Linked DNA regions of Homo sapiens: region 2 is linked to region 1. Evidence: promoter capture Hi-C in human tissues and cell types (Jung and others, 2019). All regions are on one chromosome and are shown on one strand. Each heading gives the region's core, a stretch centred on a gene start or on the middle of the fragment in contact. The rest is flanking DNA. Distances are from core to core; before and after follow the strand shown. Region 1 holds the start of CNIH1 (cornichon family member 1). Region 2 overlaps LOC105370502 (a long non-coding RNA gene).

The links. Contacts are between HindIII fragments. The study calls those that stand out against the background at their distance.
Region 2: a contact is called between a fragment that was not itself captured here and the fragment with the promoter of CNIH1 in region 1, in 1 of the 25 tissues and cell types used here (hippocampus).

Annotation. Positions count from the first base shown.
Region 1 is chr14:54,439,417-54,442,996 of GRCh38, reverse strand. It overlaps CNIH1 (cornichon family member 1), which reads left to right and starts at 1,623. Exons shown (of 5, transcript NM_005776.3): 1 at 1,623-1,750. The coding sequence starts at 1,670. RefSeq lists enhancers at 1,280-1,339, 1,216-2,014 and silencers at 1,420-1,689, 1,730-2,089, 2,100-2,149. The HindIII fragment of the contact is 6,683 bases long and covers 1-3,474 here.
Region 2 is chr14:53,208,279-53,211,858 of GRCh38, reverse strand. The region is part of intron 5 of LOC105370502 (a long non-coding RNA gene); the gene reads right to left. Among named protein-coding and RNA genes, the nearest start is that of DDHD1-DT, 57 kb to the right of the region's middle. The HindIII fragment of the contact is 4,655 bases long and covers 1-3,580 here.

The sequences.
Region 1 (3,580 bases), core at 374-2,873:
AAGGGGCTCCCATAGTGCAGCGGTGGGCTGAAGGGCTCCTCAAGTGCCGCCAAAGTGGCAGCCCAGGCAGAGGAGGCGCCGAGAGTGAGGGAGGGCTGTGAGGACTGCCAGCACGCTGTCACCTCTCAAGATCTCATTACCTTGTCCAGGCTGGTCTTGAATTCCTGAGCTCAAGTGATCCTCCTGTCTTGGCCTCCCAAAGTGTTAGGATTACAGGCATGAGCTGCTGTGCCTGGCCAAAAGTAACTTGATAATTTGCACACAGGTGCCACATAATCCTGGTGGTACAGGTTGTACTGTCCAATACACTAGCCACATTTTACTTAAAGTGATGTGAAATTTAAAGTTCAGTTCCTCAGTCATGCTAGACAATTTACAAGTGCCCAATGGCCACATGTGGCTAGTGGCTACTGTATTGGGCAATGTTTAGGTATCGAAAATTTTCACCATCACAGAAGGTTCTATTGCACAGCACTGGACAGACCCTGCTTCTAAACTATTCTACGCAATTTGCTAGGTGAACGATCTTTAATGCAAATCTAAACATGGTCTTCTTTTGCTCAAAAGCCTTCAATGATTTTCTCTTCCATCAGCAGCAATCAGTTAATAGAGTTTTTTTCTTTTAAAAATGGTTGTAATGGAAAGTTAAATCAATTTTGAATCAATTTTGTGTGTTAAGACCAGCATTAAAAACAAGTAGCAAAAGAGAGAAGGGAAAGTACTTATGGATCATTAGTACAGTTTTGTGAAATTTTTGTTTTGGTCATATCTATATTTCTTTGCCTCTATAACTAGATTTCCACCTCTTCATAACTTGATGTCTGTATGATATTCCACTGGGTTGCAATGAAAAAAATCTTTCTAGTTGTGTGTGGTGAGCAAAAAATTTGGGCTTATGGGATAAGAAGTCTGAGCTCCGTAATGAAGCATTATAAGGCCCTCTATGATCTGATCCCTTGCTAATTCATTTCTAAGTCTCACCACTGTCTTGCACTTAGGTTCCATTAATACAGAATTGCTGCTGGTTTCACCTGAGACACGAAGCTTTATTTTTCTTTTCTTTTTTCCATCTCTGTTGCGTTTCCTCATTCTGAACTGTTTCCTTGGACTGCCAGTTCTACCTTCTTTTTGCCTGGAGAACTTATCATCATCTAAGGCCAACTTAGGAAACACCTACAGCAGGAATCCTGCCTAAATGCTCCAGGGCGGGCTGGCTGTCCTTCTTTGACCTTTCAGAGCATCCCACACACATCCGTTTACGGGGTTATAATAACGTAATTATTTATTTAGGTGTTCATTTCCGGCACTATACTAAGTTCTTTCAGTGCAGGTACTATCTTATTCATCTTTGTATCTGAAGCGAGAAGCGCGGTACCTGTAACAAACTAGGCATTCATTCAATAAATATTTGTTGAAAGAATAAACGCAAGAAGGAAGGAAAAATCAATCAACAACTGTGCGGACAATGTCAGTGCAACGCAGACTCCGGCCATCAGAGGGCGCCGGGGCGGCTGGGCTGGTGCGCAGGCGCGCTGAGAGGGCTGGCGCCGCGGCGGTAGCGGTGGCGGTCGCGGCTGTGGCCGGGGGAAGTGAATGGTTTTACCCAGAGGGCCCTGCGCCGCCTTTCTCCGCTGGCAACGGCGCCGCTCCCCGCTCCTCCTCCCCAGCCATGGCGTTCACGTTCGCGGCCTTCTGCTACATGCTGGCGCTGCTGCTCACTGCCGCGCTCATCTTCTTCGCCATTTGGCACGTGAGTAGCTGGGGCTGGGGAAAGGAGGGCGAGGCGGCAACACAGCCTCTTTTCGCCCCGGGCCCGCGGTCCGGGCCGCCACGGCCGCCGGGGCTTTGCGCGTCGGGGATGCGGCCCGGCTGGCACGGGCCGCGCGGCGAGGGGTCTGGGGGCCGCGGGTACTGGAGGAGCCGGGGCGCGCAGTCGCCAGGTGGACGCGCCCGCGTTGCCTCGGCACAGGCCGCGCGCACCGCTACTCCTCCCCTACTGGATGGGGCGGCCGCGGTCCAGGCGGGCGCCCGCGGTTCCGCGCTGCGTTCGCACCGACCTCTGCCGGCCCGCGGCCCTGCATTCCCGGGGAGGATGTCGACAGCGCGGTGGGACGGCCGTAGTGTGAATGAAGTTTTCCGAATTTTTGTTAATACAGATTGACTTTCTTTTAGGGTTTCCACAGAACTGTGGCCAAAATGTAACCTACTTAGGGTGAATTTCCAACTCTACTTTTCAGCACTTGTTCGGTGCTCTTCAAATCAAATCACTTTTTTTCTCTTTTTCCAGATTGTTGTTTCCTGGTGAACTTTGATGCAAGTTCAATTGATTACTTTGTTGATTGCATGTGCGCGTTTCCCCCCCAAATCATACTTTGACCGCTGGAGTTTCAACAGGCAGCTTTCCAAGCCACCCTTATATTCAGGATTGCTTGATTTAGTAGAGGGAGTTTTCATTTGATTTTGAGATGCTCAGAAACCTTAAGCTTTTCTGGGGCAGTATTTATTTCTGTTACACACATCATCATCACTATTGCAGGGTGGAAGCACAGCCTTACTGGTCCCTCTAAGGAAAAAGTCGTAAGTTCCCTGTGACATAGTTCTACAGAGATAAGAATTTCTGTTGCTTTAGCACAAAATTAAAAGCCTTGAGAGCCTTCTGGAAATCATTCATTAAAAATTTATCTCATACTTGCTTCTCTTTTCCCCATATTCCAGTGCCTTCTGGAATGTTGCTTTTAATTTGAATGACCGCGTTCACTCTTACGTAGATTTTAAGTCAGGTTTCATCATGCCAGTAACAAGGATTTCTATGAAACATACGGAGGGGCAGAATGATTAAACAGCAGCAGCGTCTTGTGCAAAAAAGTCTCGAAAGTGGAAGCATATCACAAATCCATTCCTTTTTGCTAAGCAGTGTGATTATGTTTACAATTATTTTAGGACCTGACTGCTTATTGTAATCAGGAATACTTATGTAGGCTATTAACTGTGTCGGAAATAACTGCTACCTCAGAATGCTTGTCAGTAGGAGCAGTAATTTGAAGAGCATCTTCAGCCCTGCTTTGATGGAAGAACAATACCTAAGATAATTTGGGATACAGACTAGCTCAACCTTAGTAGGCCTCTGATGAAAATGTGTGGTTCCATGGCCGGGCGCGGTGGCTCACTCCTGTAATCCCAGCACTTTGGGAGGCCGAGGCGGGAGGATCACGAGGTCAGGAGTTCGAGACCAGCCTGGCCAACATGGTGAAACCCCGTCTCTACTAAAAATACAAAAAAATTAGCCGGGCATGGTGGTGGGCGCCTGTAATCCCAGCTACTCGGGAGGCTGAGGCGGAGGAGAATCACTTGAACCCAGGAGGCAGAGGTTGCAGTGAGCCGCGATGGCGCCACTGCACTCCATCCTGGGCGGAGACTCCGTCTCAAAAAAAAAACAAAAAAAAAGAAAGAAAGAAAGTGTGTGGTTCCATTCCATCTGTAGATGTAGCTTTAAGTCATTCTGCTTGATGGGTATTCCTTTTTTCTGGGATGATGGGGATTCTTAGAGTGGTGGGGTAGGCTTTTTCACATTTTTACGTTT
Region 2 (3,580 bases), core at 378-2,877, 1.2 Mb after region 1:
GCATTAATGTTGATTATACCAAATATATCATTTTATTCTCTTCAAATCACTTACTTATTGTAAAATAATGTCTTTACCCAGCATTATCTAAACAGCCAGAAAAGAAACTTCTAACAGCTTTTAAAATAAAGCTTTACTTAATATTTAAAGTTTACTTAATGTTTACTTGAATTTTCTCAACTTACTACCATCTTTAAAAAAAAAAGATCAGTAACTGTTTTATACAATAATTATGATATATATTTTTCTTAGAAATAGGCCAATGTACCTCCCAAAGAAAGTGCCCTCAACATTAAGGATGCCAAGTGTCAGATGTCACAGCATGTGGTCCTAAAAAGCTGACTTCCAGAGTGCTCCATTGTTTTTTGTTGTTTGTTTGTTTTGAGACAGAATTTCGCTCGTTGCCCAGACTGGAGTGCAATGGCGCGAACTCGGCTCACTGCAGCCTCCGCCTCCCAAGTTCAAACAATTCTCCTGCCTCAGCCTCCTGAAAGTAGCTGGGATTACAGGCACCCGCCACCACACCCAGCTAATTTTTGTATTTTTAGTAGAGACGGGTTTTCACCATGTTGGCCAGGCTGGTCTCGAACTCCTGACCTGAGGTGATCCACCCACCCCAGCCTCCCAAAATGCTGGGATTACAGGCATGAACCACCGTGCCCGGTTTCCGTTGTTTTTATAGTCTGTCTTAAAGAAGCAGAGTCAGGTGACTTTAAAAAAATCTATTTTAAGAAAAATTATCAAATAAAAATCCACAGCTACACAGAAGATATATTAGAGAGTGTTCTTTCAAACAAAATAAAGATCTTAATAGCATACCTTTAACTTATAAGTAAGTCACCAGAGTTCCTATAAAATATAATCCAGTCTTCTACTCAATTTCTACCAACTCTTCACAAAGACATCTGTGCCATAATGTAAGGAATGTTTATAGGGTTAACTTTGATCTTGGTGTTTAAAAAAGCAGCCCAGATAATACAAAACTTTCTAGACTTGGAGTGATCTGTTTTAACATTGTACTAGAAACGGGCTACATAATCCATTTCAGGTCCCTGAATCCTGGGTTTCAATCAGCAGATGCTGGAATCTCCTCTTGCCAAAATGTGAATTAAAATATCTCGTACAGTACTAGGAAGAGGTACTCGGCCAACACTGCCAACTCTAGTGTTGCTGCAGCTGAGTCTCAGAATGATAAAGAGAAGCTCAGTTATGCATTTGGTCAAACCAAAGCTGAGTGCAGGAACTAAGTAAACCTCTCACAAGCCTCTTACCCTTTAAGAATAAAAGATTGAGGAGAGGATGTGGAGAAATAGGAACACTTTTACACTGTTGGTGGGACTGTAAACTAGTTCAACCATTGTGGAAGTCAGTGTGACAATTCCTCAGGGATCTAGAACTAGAAATACCATTTGACCCAGTCATCCCATTGCTGGGTATATACCCAAAGGACTATAAATCATGCTGCTATAAAGACACATGCACACGTATGTTTATTGTGGCACTATTCACAATAGCAAAGACTTGGAACCAACCCAAATGTCCAACAATGATAGACTGGATTAAGAAAATGTGGCACATATACACCACGGAATACTATGCAGCCATAAAAAATGATGAGTTCATGTCCTTTGTAGAGACATGGATGAAATTGGGAATCATCATTCTCAGTAAACTATCACAAGGACAAAAAACCAAACACTGCATATTCTCACTCATAGGTGGGAATTGAAGAATGAGAACACATGGACACAGGAAGGGGAACATCACACTCTGGGGACTGTTGTGGGGTGGGGGTAGGGGGTAGGGATAGCATTAGGAGATATACCTAATGCTAAATGACAAGTTAATGGGTGCAGCACAGTAGCATGGCACATGTATACATATGTAACTAACCTGCACATTGTGCACATGTACCCTAAAACTTAAAGTATAATAATAATAAAATAAAATAAAATAATAATAAAAAAAAGGAAAAAAAACAAAATTACTTTCACACATACAGACTTAGTATCACTCATAATACAAAAGAAATGTTTAATAAATGTGTACTAGATTAATAAAAGAAATAAAAGACTGAAATAATAACCTTTAGAAGACTAATAGTTAAAATTCTTCATTAGGTACAACTCTTATGATGTACCTTTTCTGATAATCTTACATTTCCAGGCAATTGTAATTGTCAAAGAGATATTTGAAACAGCATGATTTGTATTCATGTTAAAAAAAAAAAAAAGATGACAATGTGCCAAATTCAATAAATTGTGCTATTGTGAAATATAACCATCTGACGGAAAGGAGAAGTGCCAGGAATTGGCCAAAGGGTTCTCTACACATAAATTTCCTAACGGACTGAAGTTTGTATTCTTATGGCTGAACTCAAAACACAAAAATGCTTTGTACATATTAAGGAAAAGCATTATTAAACCTAAGATCCAGCTTTTATTCCCCTCTAATTAACTCAGCACCTTGAAATCTGGTTTCCAGTTTTATCCTTTTTCTGAAACTTTTCTAAGATTAGCAATGGCATCCCACAGAAAAGAGAACAGGTGCCAGAAATCTGGAGAATATCTTTTCCCCCACTGATTTTCAACAAAGGGAAGAATATAAATTATATAAAACAAAATGGGTGGCAAATAAATCCACCATTGATTCTAGGAAAATCTCTAGAATTATTTTAAATATATTAAACACTTAGAAAATTGTGATCACAAGGAATTACACTGAATTCAAGAACACTCATGACAAACATTTTTTCCTAAGATTCGTAATGTGGTAAAAATCTCAGAACTGCTATAGGTACTAAAAATCTGCATTTCAGCAGTCATGATGTCCTTATGGACAAGATGAATAAAGCGACTGCTCAAAAGTACACATAGAACCAAACCCAAAGAATGCTGAGTTATGAGTCAAAGTCACCGCGGACAGAGATTTCCAAAAGCATTCCCCAGAGCACCGACCTTGTCCCTAACTACTTCAAGCTCTTACTGACAACTTGAATGAGGGTATTTGTGGCCCAGTGATCAAATTTTCAGACAATTTGAAGGTAGGAAATGCCATTAATGGTAAATAACTGAATTAGATCACAAAAAGGTCACAACTGTCTGCACCAATAGGCCAAATCTGACCAGATTTAATTTAACAGGACAAACATAAAGTACTACCCAACATTGGGTAGTTTACAAAGGAAAGAACTTTAATTGACTCAGTTCTGCAGGGCTTTGGAGGCCTCAGGAAACTTACAATCACAGTGGAAGGGGAAGCAAACATGTCCTTCTTCTCATGGCAGCAGGAAGAAGTGCCAAGCAAAAGGGGAAAAGCCCCTTTTAAAACCATCAGATCTCGTGAGAACTCACTCACTATCATGAGAACAATAGATGTAACCACCCTCATGATTCAATTACCACACATCTGGTTCCTCCTACAACACATGGGGATTACGGGAAGTACAATTCAAGGTGAGATTTGGGAAGGAACACAGCCAAACCATATCATCCAAGGTGTGTGTGTGTGTGTGTGTGTGTGTGTGTGTGTGTGTGTATCACATTTTATTTATCCACTCATTGATTGATGGGCATTTGGG